Linked DNA regions of Homo sapiens: regions 1, 2, 3, 4 and 5 are each linked to region 6. The links are contacts of gene promoters, found by promoter capture Hi-C in human tissues and cell types (Jung and others, 2019). All regions are on one chromosome and are shown on one strand. The core of a region is centred on a gene start or on the middle of the fragment in contact, and the rest is flanking DNA. Distances in the headings are between cores, read along the strand shown. Region 1 overlaps MAP4 (microtubule associated protein 4). Region 2 holds the start of SPINK8 (serine peptidase inhibitor Kazal type 8 (putative)). Region 3 has its middle 16 kb from the start of MAP4. Region 4 holds the start of FBXW12 (F-box and WD repeat domain containing 12). Region 5 overlaps MAP4 (microtubule associated protein 4). Region 6 holds the start of CDC25A (cell division cycle 25A).

Region 1 (2,742 bases), core at 10-2,509, 250 kb before region 6:
GAGGTTGCAGTGAGCCAAGATCGCGCCACTGCACTCCGGCTTGGGTGACAAGAGCGAAACTCCGTCTCAAAAAAAAAAAAAAAAAGAAAAGAAAGAAAACAGAATCAGGAGACCCAGGTTCTAATCTTGACTCTGCCACTTAACTTTGGGTGTGACCTTAAGACTGTTAGAGCTACACTACTCATCCAGAATTAAAAAAAAAAATTGTGCTACATAATTTCTGAAGCCCATTTTAATTTTAAAATTAATTCTGAGACTTTTGACTTATCCATTCATCTTTATAATTCTCAAAAATCTGGTAAAACATAACTTACAAATAAGACTCAGCAGTTATTAGACAGATGAAATACTTGGTCATTTAAGTAGATGAAAGTACTCATTACTTGTCTAAGCCAGAAAAATGACGATGAATTAAAGAACAAACCACAGCATCCTCGGGAAGGTTCACAAGTGGCATATACACTGAGCAGAGGGGAAGAAAAGGTGATGAAACTTGGATAAACGCCTTTTTAAATTAGTAAAAATATTAAAAGCAATATGTTTTTTCATAGGATTAATATATTTGTCTTAGTTCTTGAATCACAAAACACAAATGTAATAAAACAACCCCATTCTGGATTACTGCAGTGAAATTAATCAGAAAATTATAGGAGAAAGATGTTTCTGATGTTCTCAGGTTGAAGGTAGGAATCAATCTCAGAACCTTTGGCTACCTTCAAGAACAGCTTTTCCTTTTTCTTCTTCTTTTTTTTTTTTTTTTTTTTTTGAGACGAAGTCTCACTCTTGTCCCCCAGGCTGGAGCGCGATAGCACAATCTCAGCTCACTGCAACCTCTGCCTCCCGGGTTCAAGCGATTCTCCTGCCTCAGCCTCCTGAGTAGCTGGGATTACAGGCGCCTGCCACCATGCCCGGCTAATTTTTGTATTTTTAGTAGAGACGAGGTTTCACCATGTTGGCCAGGATGGTCTCGAACTCCTGACCTCAGGTGATCCGCCCGCCTCAGTCTCCCAAAGTGCTGGGATTACAGGCATGAACCACTGCACCCAGCCATTTTTCTTCTTTTATTATTATTATTAAATATTCTAAAAAATCTATAGAGGGAAAGGAGGGAGAGAACAGCTGGGCACCAGCAGACATATTTGAGTTCTTACTTTTATTTTATTGAGACAAGATCTCTGCTGGGTGTGGTGGCTCATGCCTGTAATCCCAGCACTTTGGGAAGGCAGAGGCAGGCAGATCACTTGAGGTCAGGAGTTAGAGACCAGCCTGGCCAACATGATGAAACGCTGTCTCTACTAAAAATACAAAAATTAGCCACGCATGGTGGCGCACACCTGTAATCCTACTCGGGAGGCTGAGACAGGAGAATTGTTTGAACCTGGGAGGTGGAGGTTGCAGTGAACCGAGACTGTGCCACTGCACCCAGCCTGGGCGACAGAGCGAGATTCTGTCTCAAAGGAAAAAAAGAAAAAAGGGAATTGTTAATTGAGACAAGGTCTGACTGTCTCCCAGGTATAGTGGCGCAATCACAGCTCACTGCGGCCTCAACTTCCTGGGCTCAAGCAATCCTCCCCTCTCAGCTTCTCCAGTAGCTAAGGACACAGATGTGTGCCACTATGCCCTTCTAATTTATTATTGTTATTATTTTGGGGGTAGAGACAGGGTCTCCATACATTGCCCAGGCTGGCGTTGAACAACTGGGCTCAAGCAATCCTCCGGATTTGACCTCCCAAAGTGCTAGGATTACATGCATGAGCCTCTATACCAGGCCCATATTTGAGTTCTTAACCCTGGCTTTGCCACAGGCTAACCATGTAAATTTGGGACAGCCCTTTCATCTCTCTTAGTCACAGTAATGACCTCTAAGGATACTTGTTCAGTTCTAAAATTATGGTTAAGTAAAAAACATTCTTCAAGTCACATCCTATTTAGAGAAGGTGCACCTATCCATCTATTTCAAAGCTTATAAAGACGATGTGTTTAGGGCTTCAACAACACAAAACATTATTACGGCAAATGTTAGATGCTAATCTAAAGCCTTCCTTACCCATCAAATGAACCCATCCCAGGCTTGTTCCCTACTACTCCAACAGGAAAGTCATGCAGTAAGTATGCTGTCCCCTCATGGCTCCTGCTAGAGCCTGTGCTCCACTCTGCCCCTGTGCCTTTGCTCATGAGATCACTGATCCCCTGCTTGAAATGTCTCCTCCCTGATCCAATTCCAAAGCCACCACTTGGGCCTCATAGCTTCCACAGAACCTCTCTGATGACTTTAATGCTCATTTTCCACTACTTAGCTCTTTTACCATTCACTGTTACTAGGAAAGAATTTAGTCCTTAAGCACATGTTTTCCTGTTAGTCTTTTTTTAAAAAATTAAAAAGCCTTTAAGTATTCTATTTATCATTAAAATTTTCATTATTTTACATGTTAGTAAGTGAACTCATTAATGTTTAAAAAGAAAATACTGTGCTTTTACTACTTTTATTTCCTCACAATGCCTAGCTAACTGCATGAGACAGAATAGTATTCAATAAATAAGTTGCTATCAAATTATCACAAGATCATTATTTGGGCTAAATGATGTAAGTTAAATTCACATTATACACCAAACTTCTTGGAAAGTGATTTGCATTTATTATAAAGAGCATAAGGTTGGTGACATAATGTTTTTTTTTAAAAAAGCATAAGGAATTCCAAAATAATTTAAACAATAGCCTATCATTTCTAAGATAGACATTAA
Region 2 (2,965 bases), core at 105-2,604, 150 kb after region 6:
AGGCCTAAGGCGGATTTTGAAGTTTTTTTCTAATGTCTGCAGCTGAGTGATAAACTTACCCTTTAAGATTAGTTGGCCTTCAATAGATCCAGATGACAGAGAGGTATGCTTCCTCAATGCCTCCCTTAGTCTCTCCAGAAAGGCAGTAGGATTTTCTTCCTTTCCCTGTGTTATAGTGGGCATCATTGAATAATTCATAGGCTTCTTCCTAGTTTTTCTTAGTCCTTCTAGCATGCAAGTTAGCAAATGTCTGCGGCACCAATCTCCACATTCTGATTCTGCGTCCCATTGAGGGTCTACACTGGGAACTGCCTGCTGGCCTGTGGGGAATCGTTCTCTTTCCTCTGTTGTCATCCTATCATTGACCTGACTGAGATACCAGAGATTGCCAAACTCTTGGGCTGCAGTTATAGCGGCACTTCTCTCATTTGGGGTTAGTATCTGATCTAGCAGTAACATTATGTCTCTCCATGTCAGATCAAAGGATTGTCCTAACCCTTGTAAAACATCAATATAGCCATCAGGGTTATTTGAGAATTTACCTAGGTCTATTTTAATTTGCTTCAAGTCTGAGAGGGAAAAAGGTACACACACTCTGGGCTGAATTCTCCTCCTCCCACCACTTCAAGGGGGCATAATCTGGGAATATTGGCACTCTTTGGTTCATTGTTTACCCCTTTCTCTATCTCCTTTGGCACCGTTTGTGTTGAAGGGGGGTCATTATTAGTTGGGGAAGGAGCCGGGGGAACGCCGGGGCAGGGGGGTAGATTCTGAGGGCTTCCTGTAGGGCATAAATCACACTTTTAACATAATTGTGAGTTGTCTCTTAATGAAAAGAAAGTTTGCACATATGGCACTTCGCTCCATTTGCCCTATTTTCTACAAAAGAAGTCTAGCTGTAAGATGGTGTTATAATTTATACTTCCCTTGGAGGGCATGTTTCTCCCTCTTGAAGAGGATATTGTGGCCAGGGGTACTGCAGAAGAATATAAGTCGTTTCTTTCTTAGCATCTGAGGGTCAAATTGGTCCTAATTCTCTAGAATACATCTTAGGGGCGTTTTTGCCTGGGAGGGGGGAACGTTTAAAAAGAACATAGGGATGCCAGCACCCCTAGTCATTTTCTGATGAGCATTAGTCCTAGAGCGTCCTCTGTGGTCCTAATGCTTATTCCTTTTCAGGGTGCGTAACCACCCACGGACCTCTGCTTATCAGATTAGTTACACTCACCGATGTAGCAGTCCTGCACCTGTTTTCCTGCCCTTCTTGACCACAAAGAAAGGGGTCTGGGCTGCTGGATTCTAGTGGTCCTTTACCAGCGTGCCTGACATTGCCTTTGCACTCAGGAGTGAGTTCTAGAGCTGGGCTGGGTTTCTGAGTATTTCATAACAACCCAGTTGCCCCATCAAGATGCATTTTCATAAACAACAGTTCTTATGCAAATTCGTTTCAGAGAGGGTGTAGGTAACCTTTTGAGTCAGGATTGAGATAGAGTTTTTGCCCACTAGGGCCTTTGTCCTTTTCCTTTGTAGGAATATGCCTTAATTATCGAACTTAAGATTTTGTTGCCCTGGATTAAGTCCTTTTGGGTACGAAATATGAGAGATGGCTCCTGTTTATCCTATGTGCCTTTTTCCTACGAGAAGGAGAGCGAGGAGAAAAAGATGGGCTTGCTCTTTTTGTAAGTACTTTAAGGCTTGGCTGAGTGCAAACAGCTCGCAGTTTGTGCAGACCAATTATGAGGCAATTCTCCTAACTCTGCTTCCACAAGAGTTTCCTTATCAATTACTGAATACCCATTGTGGTTTTTTCCTCAATCGCCTGGGAGGAACCATCTATCGTCCTATCCTAAAGGAAGTTCCTCCTAGGTCTGGTTGGACCTTTGCATGGCAATTAAGATTTAAATCCCCTGTTAGGAAATCTGCTGGGTTAAGGGAATTATCAGTGGTTGGTGTTAAATCACCTTTTTCTAACAGAATAGCCCCATACTTTAAGAATTTTGAGCTAGTAAGCTACCTTTTTTTTTTTTTTTTTTTGGTCTTAGGATTGTTCTGAACTGGTGAGGTGTGCTCACAATGAGGTTTCCTCTAAAGGTTATTTTTCTACTTTATTCTGTTAGCAAAGCAGTTGCCACTACAGATTGAATGCATTTGGGCCATCCACGGGTTACTGGGTTCAGGATTTTTGATAGGAAGGCTATGGGTTGTCAGTGGTCTCAGTGTTTTCGGGCTACGCCCTTGTTTACACTGACAACAAGGTAGTATTGGAGTATTATAGGGTCGTGGAGAAGACCTTTAATTATCAATTATAGGTTCTAAATTTACCTTGGCTTTTAAAGGAATAGGGTACACTGTTTTTTCTTTACTACCTCTCTCTTTCCCTTTTTTCTTTCTTTCTCTCTTTGACTTTCTGCCTCTTCCTCTCTCTGTCTGTCTTTTTTTAGATGGATTTTGGAAACGCAGTGGAAGGACGTTCACTTGTTGCCCCAGTTTGCCACTATAGGAACATGTGCCTCCCTTTAATTTACTCAAATTCGTTTTCATCCTGATCTATTATGTTGTTGTAGACTCAGTTCCAGTTGTTAAAATACTGGGTTATCAGTTCTAAGGGCCTGGCCAAGGAGCCAAGGCTTGGAGATTGTATTGCAGGGGGTAGTAAACTGGGTAGAAATTAGGGGAGGAGAGCATCTTACACAATGGGAGAGCGATCTTCCTAGCTATTTACAAACTTGGGGCCCTGGCAAGGGTGGTGGGGAATGGGTCCCACATAACAGCCCATGTTGACAGCTATATACCTAAATTGGGAGGGACACCAGGGGCAAGACTCCCTGGGTTCATAGCCTAGATATCTAAGGCCACAGCATAGAGCTTCCTTAGATCTCTTTGGAGATACAACTTGCTCTAATACTTGGGAGAGGAAATGAAAGTCTGAAGCATTAGTACCTAGGAGGCAGGGATTGGAGGAAGT
Region 3 (2,832 bases), core at 329-2,828, 160 kb before region 6:
GCTACTCGGGAGGCTGAGACAGGAGAATTGCTTGAACCCAGGAAGTGTAGGTAGCACTGAGCCGAGATTGTACCACTGCACTCCAGCCTGGGCGACAGAGTAAGACTCCATCTCAAAAAAAAAAAAAAAAAAAAAAAAAAGATAGGGGTAACTCAATTACACAGGAGTCAACTAAAAAAGTTCCCAATGACCAAAGCTGGAACAATATAAACAATAGACTGAATAAATAAATGAGAGAGAATAAGCAAGTCTTCAGTGAAGAATTCCAAACAAGATACTCCACTTCCAAGAGGTAGAACATAACCCTTCATCCTTTACATGTGCATAGCACATAGTGACCTCCTTCTAAAGAGTACAATATGAAAATGGGAGGGGGGGGTAAGAGAAATATGACAAATACTACCTAAGCCAAGTGATCAAGACTAATATCAATAGTGATAAATCAGCTGGGTGCAATGGCTTACATCTGTAATCCCAGCACTTTGGCAGGCCAAGGCAGGAGGTTCACTTGAGGCCAGGAGTTCTGACACCAACTTAGGCAAGCAACATGGCGAAACCCCATCTCTATGAAAAATACAAAAATTAGGCTGGGTGCGGTGGCTCACACCTGTAATCCCAGCACTTTGGGAAGCCAAAGTAGGGGGATCTCAAGGTCAGGAGATTGAGATCATCCTGGCTAACATGGTGAAACCCTGTCTCTACTAAAAATACAAAAAGTTAGCTGGGTGTGGTGGCACATGCCTGTAGTCCCACCTACTTGGGAGGCCGAGGCAGGAGAATCACTTGAACCCAGGAGACGGAAGTTACAGTGAGCCAAGGTCGCGCCACTGCACTCCAGCCTGGGCGACAGAGCAAGACTCCATCTCAAAAAAAAACAAAAAAACAAAAAAATTAGCCAGGCATGGTGGTACGTGCCTGTAGTCCCAACTACCCGGGAGGCTGAGGTGGGAGGATCACTTGGGCCCTGGAGGCCAGGGTTGCGGTAAGCCACGATCGTGCCACTGCAACCCAGCCTGGGCAACAGAGCAAGACTCTTTCTCAAAAAAAAATTAGCTGGGCTTGGTGGCATGTGCCTATGGTCCCAGCTATTTGGGAAGCTGAGTTGAGAGGAAGCTTGAGTCGAGTCCAGGAGGTTCCAGTGAACTGTGATCACAGCACTGTACTCCAGCTTGAGTGATAAAGCAAAACACACACATACACACACACATACACACACACACACACACAGACATAAATCATGCTGACATGATTTGATAGTATGCACCCTTGATATAATGTGATAAGAGTGGCACTTTACCTCTGTGATCTTCCTTCTAAAAAGCATAACCTCTGTCTAATCATGAGAAAAAGATCAGACAACTCCCAACTGAAGGACACTCTACAAAATATCAGACCAGTACTCCTCAAAACTGTCAAAGTCATCAAAAACAAGGGAGGTGTAAGAAACTGTCATAGCCAAGAGAAAGCTAAGTATGATAACTAAACATAATGTGGTATCCTAGATGAGATCCTAGAACAGAAAAAGGTATTTAGGTAAAAATTAAGGAAATCTAAATAAACTATGAACTTTAGTTAATAATAATGTATGAAAATTGAGGTCAGGAGTTCGCGAGCGGCCTGGCCAACATGGTGAAACTGCATTTCTACTAAAAAAAAATAATAAAAAAATTAGATGGGCATGGTGGTGTGCGCCTGTAATCCCAGCTACTAGGGAGACTCAGGCAGGAGAATTACTTGAATCTCGGAGGCGGAGGTTGCAGTTAGCCCAAGATCGCACCACTACACTCCAGCCTGGGCAAGAGAGCAAGACTCCGTCTCAAAAAAAAAAAAATTAGCCAGGTGTGGTGGCAGGCACCTGTAATCCCAGCTACTCAGGAGGCTGAGGCAGGAGAATCGCTTGAACCCAGGAGACAGAGGTTGCAGTGAGCTGAGATTGTGGCACTGCACTCCAGCCTGGGTGACAGAGAAAGACTCCTTCTCAAAAACAAACAAAAACAAAAAATTCTAGTAATAACCATTATTTACTTCCAACTTAAATCTGATCCACGACCTAAAACTGCACTCTGAAATAATCTACAATTCCCCTGAGAAACTTAATAAATATAGACAAAAGTGTGTATATCAATTAACTTACAAGTCTCTAATCACTGCAAACTAGCTGACTCTCGTTAAAGCTTCAAATCTTAAAGTTCTACCACTGGTACTCTTAGAAGCTAACTTACCCTTGTTGATCACAGAGAGACAACAGTGACCAAGTCTAATAAAAGCTTATTCATGTACACAGAAACAAAACAAAGTAACTTGGTGATGTGCACATCTAATATTTCCAACCAAATCACAAAACTTTAGAAAGGGCATTTGAATCCAACCTCCTTATTTTAAAAGTGAGAAAAGTCCAAGGAGATTAACAAATATATTTGTTCAAAGTCATCCCTGAGTTCTCAACTAAAAGTAGAATTTCTTTTCTGTCCTATATCCCAAATCAGGAAGCAAGGGGAAAAGGTAGGAGGTATTATCATTCTGATCATCATTTCCTCTGCTAACTTAGAATGCTTTCGTTTCTCAGGGATAAAGAAGGTAAGTCCAGCTATATCTATGTATTGGAAATAGCATCACATAGCTCTCCTTTTTAAAATGGCATGCCCTCCTCATGTGGATTTTTATCTTCTATTTAACTATCAGTTATCGCACTATGCTTCTACAGTTAGTATCTATGATGTGAAAGTTGAAGCCCTGGTTAAAGCTTCTTAAATCTACCATTTTATTTTGTACAAACAGAAAAGTATATTAGTTTTCTTTCCAGCTGTCCTTAATTTTTTTAATTGAAGTGAA
Region 4 (2,894 bases), core at 395-2,894, 180 kb after region 6:
AGCTGCCTGCTTTAATCTACTTTCTCCTAGACAATGTCCGGACCATTCTCTCACCTGCATCTTATCTTTTGCTTAGACTATTACGCAGTTACCATTTCACATCTCTCAAATTTTACATCTCTTAACTCTTGTGACATTTAGATTTGTCTTCATCTATTGTTGCAATGTGTCTTTCTCTGCCGCTTTTCTGGTAGCACCCCGCCACCACCACCCCCCAACACACCTTCCTGTTCCTCTATTTTTTTTGTTGTTGTTGTTGAGATGGAGTCTCGCACTGTCGCCCAGGCTGGAGTGCAGTAGCGCAATCTCAGCTCACTGCAACCTCCACCTCCCAGCTTCAAGCAATTCTCCTGCCTCAGCCTCCCAAGTAGCTGGGATTACAGGCACCCGCCACCACGCCCAGCTAATTTGTTGTATTTTTAGTAGAGACAGGGTTTCACTATGTTGGCCAAGCTGGTCTCAAACTCCTGACCTGGTGATCCACCCGCCTCGGCCTCCCCAAGTGCTGGGATTACGGGCATGAGCCACTGTGCCTGGCCTCTGTTCCTCTATTTCAAATTCATTCATTCACTCATTCGGCAATTTGCTTCAGTTTCCTTATGTTTGCCTCTTTCTCATCTGTCCTCTTTTCCATTTTATTCCTACTCTGTCTCAGTCCACTTACAGTTATATTTCCTATCTGTGTATTTTATAATATTTGTGCTTTAATACTTTTAAAATATCCTTTATTTTACTGTTTCTTCTCTTCCCTTGTCATATTTTAAAGTGTTTTATTTCTCAGCCTTCTATATCTTTGCATTAATTCTGTTCCTCTACAATAGAGTCCGTTCCAAGCTTTCTGTCTTCCTGTGTCCTTCCACGGCTCTGGCTCTCTCTGCATTATTTCCTATTTATGGAATACAAATCTTTTACCCTTGTATTTTTCTCACTCCTCTCCACACACCCCTTGACTCGCCTTTCCCCACGCCCCTCTAGGTGCTTCTTGGTCTTTGCTTTTCCTTTTTATTTCCTCACCATGTCAATTTGTATTTTTCCTCTCTCTTACTACTGTATCATAAATGGGACTCCCGACAACCACTCCCGTGTGTCTGCCTGGAGGCAGCAGTTTTAAGAAGGGTTGGCCACTGAGCCTCACAGAGGGACCCCTGTCTTATGCTGCAGCAAAGTACCATAGACTGGGTGGCTTACAAACAAATTTATTTCTCACAATTTTGGAGGAGAGAAGTCCAAGAGTCACCTGTCAGCACGGTCAGGTTCTGGTGTGGGCCTTCTTCCAGGTTGCAGCTGACACCTTCTCATGTCCTCGCATGATATGAACAGGGCTAGAGAGCGTTCTGGGGTCTCTTTTATAAGGTCACTGGTCCCATCATAAGGACTCTGCCTGTGACCCACTTACCTCCCAAAGGCCCCCCACCTCCAATCACACCAAGGGTTAGAATTTCAACGTAGGAATTTTGAGAGGACACAAACACCCAGGCTATGACACGGTCTTTAGAAAATCCCAGAATGAGTTGTCAGGTTCTTGGGAGATCTGTAACTGTGGGAAAGCGTCACATCCCAGGGAAAGCCACCAGCTGGGAGAGCCATCCCAGACAAGGCCTGCTCCCTTTGGGCGGACCTCTGTGGAGAAGCCAGCTTGGCACGTTCTTTCTCCTCCACTGCAAAGTTAAATGCGAGAAGGTAGAAACCCAGAGGCCATGCTGGCGCTGAGAGATGAGCCCCACTCACCAGATTCAAGATCCCAAGGTAGGCACAGACACAGGGCAAGCAGACTCCAATTCCAGGAGTTTGGAACTTAAATAGAGTCATAGAGACACTCAGATCTGATCAAAGTGAGTGCACTCGGTGACATTTCCTAAAGGGTTCTGACAACTTCATCTGCAACTGGGGCTGCCCCAGGTTCTGCACCTCCAGCTCACAGCGCACAGGTGTTGCTGAGCTCCTCTAAACAATGAACAGCACTAACAAGTGGGTTTAGGTAGGGATGCCTGCCAGCTGTGTGGATCAGGCCCCAGGGGAGAGGCCGGGGTGGAGGTCAGCCCGGGAGTCTGCACACCTGCAGCTTGTTTCTACCGCACACAGATGGGCATGGGTGAAAATCTTTACAAGTGCTGCAGACTTTGGCAAAGCCTATAAATTCAGAGCAGCCCGGAGAGGAGAAAGGAAAGTGGATGTGGGTTCAGGCCGCATGAAATGGAGATCCGATTGCCTGACTTAGCTTTGAAGCGAATCTTCTCTTTCCTGGACCTGTTCGGCTTGCTGCAGGTTTCCCAGGTGAACAAGGTAAAGGCCTTCCACCTCCCACTGCCCCCCAAGCCCGCTGCTTCTCTCGACCAGTTTGAGCACCACTTTGCAGAATAGCAGAGGGTTACACTGAGGCTTTGGGGGTTAGCATTCTTCATACTGAGGGCCTCATATTCTGTTAAACGAAAAGGACAAGCTGATATCCAGGAGTTGTGCTGACTAAACAGTCCTTGAGGCTCCCATTTCAAGCCCTAGGAAATCAACACTTCTTCCTGTGAATTCATGGGAATACCCAGTGCCTGTATTAGCAGTGATAGGTCTCTGTTGTTACCATTTCCTTATCTCCCCACACTGAGAGTGCTTTGAGAGCTGGAATCCCATCTGATTAACCTGTGCGGGCCCAGCTCCCAGAACAAATAATAGCAGAGGATTACCCTTGCTCTCTGATGTAACTGATTGCCTGCTTGTCTCTTCCTTTCTCTCCCATAGCATTGGAATAGGATTGCAGACAGTGATTACCTGTGGAGGTAAGGGAAGGGAAAGGGCAAGGAGGGAAGGGGAGAGGAGATCATCTGACTGCGCACCCATGCTGTGTCCCAAGGCCTGTGTGGCTGTGTTGTGAGATATACACAGGAAAGTTAGTGTGAGTA
Region 5 (2,934 bases), core at 428-2,927, 210 kb before region 6:
AAAAGAAATGAGAGCACTTCGTGTTACCGATACAGGAAGATAACAGGTATCTAATAGCTAAATATAGATAAAGGCCAAGACACCCTAGGGTATGCCTATAGTCCCAGCTATTAGGGAGGCTAAGGCAGAGGGGTGTCTTGAGTCCAGGAATTTGAGACCAGCCTGGGCAACATAGTGTGACCCCATCTCTAAAAATAAATAAATAAATAAATAAATTAGCTGGGTGTGGTGGCACACGCCTATAGTCCTTATCTCGTAATAAAAAATAATAATAATAAAAAAGAACCTGGCCAGGTGCAGTGGCTCAAGCCTATAATCCCAGCACTTTGGGAGGCTGAGGCAGGTGGATCACTTGAGGTCAGGAGTTCGAGACCTGCCTGGCCAATGCGGTGAAACCCCATATCTACTAAAATACAAAAAATTAGCCAGGCATAGTGGCGTGTGAATCACAACTACTCTAGAGGCTGAAGCACAAGAATAGCTTGAACCTGGGAGGCAGAGGTTGCAGTGAGCTGAGATCGTGCCACTGCACTCCAGTCTGGGCGACAGAGCAAGACTCCATCTCCCAAAAAAAAAAAAAAGCTTTATTCCCATATATTTACCTATGTGATTAGGGTTTCTTCACTATGATAGCTACAAAAACAGGAAAAATTGCCAATCCTATTTCATCAGAGAAAGAAATATTGATCCACAGACCCATGATTTAATTGAGAAAAATAACAGACCCCATCATCTCATAAGAAAAGCATTTCCAATAAAATTCAACTTGTATAGTAATAACATCAAAAATTACAACCTATGTTGGCCGGGCACAGTGGCTCATGCCTGTAATCCCAGCAATTTGGGAAGCCAAGGTGAGCAGATCACTTGAGGCCAGGAATTCGAGACCAGCCTGGTCAACACAGTAAAGCCCATCTCTACTCTTCTTGAGGAAACAAATAGGATTAAGTGAAAATGAAGGGAGATTTAAAAAAAACATAATACATGCAATAGACTGATAAATTTCCTCTGGACCAAGTTAAAACACAGAACCTTTGTCACAGGAACTTTAAAAATTAAAATTTAAGTTTACATACATATTTAGTAGCAGAAACATATTAGCACAATCAAGAAAAAACTTTTAAGCATAAAAATATATTACATTAGGATAAAAGTCTGAGACATGTTATGGAAATAAAAGTTCAAGGACTCAAAAGAAGAATTTAAATTTCCAATGATAAAGAACAGCTTGTTCGTATATTTTTAAACTAGATGATGGAAACCAAAATGCTATATATTTAGAAGCATTTGGATACATTTAGCAGAATGAGGTAACTTATTTTTATGTGGCAAAAGTAAAACATTCTCAAAATTACATGTTTTACAACTAAACTTTTGCTACAAAATTTTAGATGTAAACTTAATGTACAAAGAGACAGAATTTATCAGAATTCTGAGTATGTGACCAAAAGTTAAGACCACTACTTTAGACCAAGTTAAAAAGAAAGCTTGATATATACTGACAGAAAGTTTTCTAAGATAATAAACTAAAAAAAGCAAGTTAAAATTCATACGATTTGATTCCATTTGTAAAATGGAATCAAATGAAAGTAAAGCCACTAAATTTTTTATTGTATGTTTGTAACTGCAAAGAATAAAGTCTTAAAAGATCTACCCTTCTTGAGGAAATAAATAAGATTACATGAAAATGAAGGGAGTTTTCTTTGTTTTTTGTTTGAGACAGAGTCTAGCTCTATCGCCAAGACTGGAGTGCAGTGGCGCAATCTTGGCTCACTGCAACCTCTGTCTCCCGGGTTCAAGCAATTCTCCTGTCTCAACATCCCAAGTAGCTGGTAGCTGGGACTACAGGCGTGCGCCACCACTCTCAGCTAATTTTTTTATCTTCATTAGAGACAGGTTTTCACCATATTGGCCAGGCTGATGTCAAACTCCCGACCTCAAGTGATCTGCCTGCCTCAGCCTCCCAAAGTGATAGAATTACAGGCATGAGCCATGGCACCCGGCAAAGATTTTGACTTAATTTTTAAGAGAGAGGGTTTTGCTCTGTTGCCCAGGCTGGAATGCAGTGGTATAATCACACCTCACTGTAACCTCAAAATGCTGGGTTCAAATGATCCTCCTCCCTCAGCCTCCCAAGTATATGGTGACAACAGGTGTGCACCGCCACAGTTGGCTTATTTATTTATTTATTTATTTATTTAATTTGAGACTGAGTCTCCCTCTGTCACCCAGGCTGGAGTGCAGTGGCACAATCTCAGCTCACTGCAACCTCTGCCTCCCAGGTTCAAGCGATTCTCATGCCTCAGCCTCCTGAGTAGCTGGGGCTACAGGCATGTGCCACCATGCCCGGCTAATTTTTTGTATTTTTAGTAGAAACAGGATTTCACCGTGTTGGCCAGGCTGGTCTCTAACTCCTGACCTCAGGTGATCCACCTGCTTCGGCCTCCCAAAGTGCTGGGATTACAGGAGTGAGCCACCACGCCCAGACAATTCTATTTGTATAAAGACAGGGTCTCACTAAGTTGCTCAGGCTGGTCTCAAACTCCTGGGCTCAAGTGGTACTCCTGCCTCAGTCTCCCAAGTAGCTGGGACTACAGGCGTGAGCCACCATGATCAGCCTCGTCCACTGAGCTTTAATTCAATGCTACTTTATTTATTTTGTTGCTCAAATTTTTCCAGTGTTGGCTATTGGGAACTCTTTCAGTTGACTCCTGTGTCCCTCTGACACACTATCTCTGTCATTGTGGGCTTTGGAGCATAACTCCAACAGTCTTTTTATAAATGATCTGTGCAATTAAAGGTAATTTTTTTTTCCAGTGAAGGGCATAAATAATGAGATTTAATTGCGAATAATATGCATAATGGAAGTCTCATTTGCACATATCTGTTTACTTTCTCCCTGCCTTTCCTCCTGCCTCAGCCTCCTGAGTAGTT
Region 6 (2,770 bases), core at 261-2,760:
TGGCAAAGATCCCACTTTGCCACTCTGAACACCCAATTAGCACTTGGGCAAAGGAGAAAAAAGGAGTGGGTGGGCATGGCCTTGGACCACATTGCAGGTTATGATGGCTATGGCAAATGTTGGGGTATTTCCTAAAATAAAAGCATGTGTTCTAAGTACTGAGACAGAGTCGGGATGAAAGTTGAACAGGACACTTTCTGCTTTTCAGAAGTTGGGAAACGCACAAGACATGTGCTTAGCAAACGGGATGCCAGAGATTGAAGGGAAAGTAGCTCTTCCGCGGGAAACACCGTGGGATGCATTTTTTGCTATCAGGAAAAGCCCAGGAAGCTTTCTGAAAGTTGGGTAAAAAGACCTGGCCTTAGGAAAGCAGCAGAGTGGACATCAGGAATGTGCACAGGGCGAGGGACTGAGATGATTTTACATAAACGCCAGGAAAGAAAATGCCATGGTCCTTTGTTGAGAAGGAACAAAGATCACAGCAAACGAAGATCCTGAGGATGGTTTAGCAAAGGGTGAAAGTGAGTGCCTAGAAGAGCCTGATTTTCCCCGCGGGGGTAGATTCCAAAGAGCTTCCAGGGATAGAGATAGAAGGAGAGTACGGAGCAATCCGAAAGGGGTGAAGGTGGGCCTGGCTCGGGCTTAGGCCCAAGGATCTCCACCTCTTCCCCTGGAAGGTCCCGACGGCCTCTCCCGCCCAACATTCCGCCCGGGCGGGGGTGCACATGGCAGGCCCTAGCCCGGCTGTCCCCGAGCGGCGAACCCGGACGGACGGGTCTCGCCCTTCTCCCGGTCCGTTTCCTGGCCTGATCTCTCCGAGGCCGACACCGAGGCCAGGGGCCCGGAGCACCGCCCGCCGGTCTCTCCTTACCTGCCCAGACCCTGCAGCTGGTCCATAGTGACGGTCAGGTTGGTGACAGGCGACAGTCCCCCGGCGGCTGAAGCGCCAAATAGCGCCTTCACGACGGGCTGCGACGCGGGAGGGGGGCTGCAGGCGAAGAGCAGGCGGCGGCGGTGCGGGGGCTCCGGGCCCAGTTCCATGGCGGCGCCCGGCCTCGCAGAGCTCCCGCTCCCTCTTCCTCTGCCTCCGCCGCGACCGCCCCGCCCCGCCGACACCGGCCTCGGCCGCGCGCCACCGGCGCCCGCGGGTCAAACACAAACACGACTCCGCGGTTCAGGGACGCGGCTGCCGCGGGCAAGCGGCGCGGCCGGGCGGGTGTGCGGACCCTCCAGGCGCCAGCCACCAGCCACAGGCACGGGTGCTTCCCTCTCACACCGCGAGGCCAGCGGGCGGGCGGGCGCCGGCAACCTGAAGATTAAATCCAAACAAACGTGGCGGGTCGGCAAGAGAAGCCGGGCGAGAGCCTCGAGGCAACGGCCCAGGCTCACGCTGTCTTCGCTGTTCTCCCACCCGCTTGCCCAGCTCCGGGTAGCAGAAAACCAAGCCGACCTACACCTCTTACCCAGGCTGTCGCAGCCAGGCCGGCCTTTCGCGGTAATAGCGGCTCAGTGGGGCCAGCTGCTGCCCCGCCCCCCTTTCCTAGTTGGCGCCAAACGGAATCCACCAATCAGTAAGCAACTTCTCCTCCTCTCAACCGAATGGCAGCTAGGCTGGGCCAATGAGAGGGGAAGAAGAAAGCGGCTCGCGGGACTCTGCCAGGTCATCGGCTCTCAGAAGGGGGCGGAGCCCAGAGCAGAAGAGCGGGGATCAAAATGAGAGGGGGAGCAGAGGTCAATGAAAACTCCCAGCAGAACCTGCGAGGCGCTGCTCGCGGCTGAAAGGCCCCTTTGCCCCGTCGCATGCTGGGAAGCGTAGTTCCCATCGCGAGCTGCCGTCCAGTTAGCTTCGGCCCCCTTTGGGCCTCCGCTACCTCGCCCCCAGCCGGGCGCCCCACACTCTGAGGCAATGTGGAGGCTAAGGAAGACCTGTGGAGGTCTGGCCGGATCCAGCCTTGGCTCGGCCTCTAACCGTGCAGTATTGTGGACCCCTTTCTTCCGCCCCGGGCCTCCAGGCCCCATTTTATAATGAGGGAGGGAATGCAATGACCCCCAGGACTGGACTCGACCACCAGGGCCCAACTCTGGAGGGCTCACAGACCCTGGGTGCTGCTGGCCTCATGGGATTTGAACCCCGCAGTACAACCTGTGCTGTGGGCCTCAGCATTTTTTGCTCACTTCCATTCTAGCCCTTATTGGATGCTCTTAGAATCATTTCTTTCTTTCCCACCACTTCTTAGCCCCCTGGGAGCTCCTAGAGAGAAATAACAGCAAACACAATAATAGCAAATAATAGCTAAAGTTTACATAATGCTTATGCACTTGACACTGTTCCCAGTGTGTTAATCTGTATTAATTCATTTAATCTTTACAACTCTGTGACATAGGAATTATCCCCATTTTCTAAGTGGGCATATTTACTTTTACAGCGCCGAACCTGTGGCAGCTCCTAGACGGATTTTGAGGGCCATAAGTGCATGATTTAATTGCAACCTACTGCTGGGCTTAGTGGCTCACGCCTATCATCCCAGCACTTTGGGAGGGCGAGGTGGGAGGATTGCCTGAGCCCACGAATTTGAGACCAGCCTGGGCAACAAAGTGAGACACCCCCTGCCCCCCACTCAAAAAAAAAAAACCCTACAGTTTGAAAAGCCATGCTGGACAGGTGGAAACCCCAAACCTTTGGCCCCAACACCAGACCCTTCACAGTGAGGAACCTCTCTCTCAGGATTCATCTCCTTTTCTGTGCACCAGTGCTCCACCACCCAGGAAC

Evidence for each region. Contacts are between HindIII fragments. The study calls those that stand out against the background at their distance.
Region 1: a fragment that was not itself captured here is called in contact with the fragment with the promoter of CDC25A in region 6 in 2 of the 25 tissues and cell types used here (aorta and mesendoderm cells).
Region 2: a contact is called between the fragment with the promoter of SPINK8 here and the fragment with the promoter of CDC25A in region 6, in 1 of the 25 tissues and cell types used here (IMR-90 fibroblasts).
Region 3: a fragment that was not itself captured here is called in contact with the fragment with the promoter of CDC25A in region 6 in 5 of the 25 tissues and cell types used here (adrenal gland, aorta, bladder and 2 more).
Region 4: the fragment with the promoter of FBXW12 here is called in contact with the fragment with the promoter of CDC25A in region 6 in 5 of the 25 tissues and cell types used here (IMR-90 fibroblasts, bladder, heart left ventricle and 2 more).
Region 5: a fragment that was not itself captured here is called in contact with the fragment with the promoter of CDC25A in region 6 in 1 of the 25 tissues and cell types used here (pancreas).

Annotation. Positions count from the first base shown.
Region 1 is chr3:47,936,913-47,939,654 of GRCh38, forward strand. The region is part of intron 3 of MAP4 (microtubule associated protein 4); the gene reads right to left. Among named protein-coding and RNA genes, the nearest start is that of MAP4, 78 kb to the right of the region's middle. RefSeq lists a silencer at 2,033-2,233. The HindIII fragment of the contact is 4,708 bases long and covers 1-2,742 here.
Region 2 is chr3:48,332,307-48,335,271 of GRCh38, forward strand. SPINK8 (serine peptidase inhibitor Kazal type 8 (putative)) reads right to left here and starts at 1,355. Exons shown (of 8, transcript NM_001080525.3): 1 at 1,229-1,355; 2 at 60-165. RefSeq lists a silencer at 1,700-1,900. The HindIII fragment of the contact is 10,965 bases long and covers 1-2,965 here.
Region 3 is chr3:48,030,685-48,033,516 of GRCh38, forward strand. It overlaps a transcript of MAP4 not described here. Among named protein-coding and RNA genes, the nearest start is that of MAP4, 16 kb to the left of the region's middle. The HindIII fragment of the contact is 3,193 bases long and covers 1-2,832 here.
Region 4 is chr3:48,370,575-48,373,468 of GRCh38, forward strand. FBXW12 (F-box and WD repeat domain containing 12) reads left to right here and starts at 1,645. Exons shown (of 11, transcript NM_207102.2): 1 at 1,645-1,746; 2 at 2,110-2,283; 3 at 2,734-2,771. The coding sequence starts at 2,194. The HindIII fragment of the contact is 16,322 bases long and covers 1-2,894 here.
Region 5 is chr3:47,981,200-47,984,133 of GRCh38, forward strand. The region is part of intron 2 of MAP4 (microtubule associated protein 4); the gene reads right to left. Among named protein-coding and RNA genes, the nearest start is that of MAP4, 34 kb to the right of the region's middle. The HindIII fragment of the contact is 4,461 bases long and covers 1-2,934 here.
Region 6 is chr3:48,186,907-48,189,676 of GRCh38, forward strand. CDC25A (cell division cycle 25A) reads right to left here and starts at 1,511. Exons shown (of 15, transcript NM_001789.3): 1 at 872-1,511. The coding sequence starts at 1,041. RefSeq lists an enhancer at 596-1,224 and a silencer at 968-1,177. The HindIII fragment of the contact is 16,525 bases long and covers 1-2,770 here.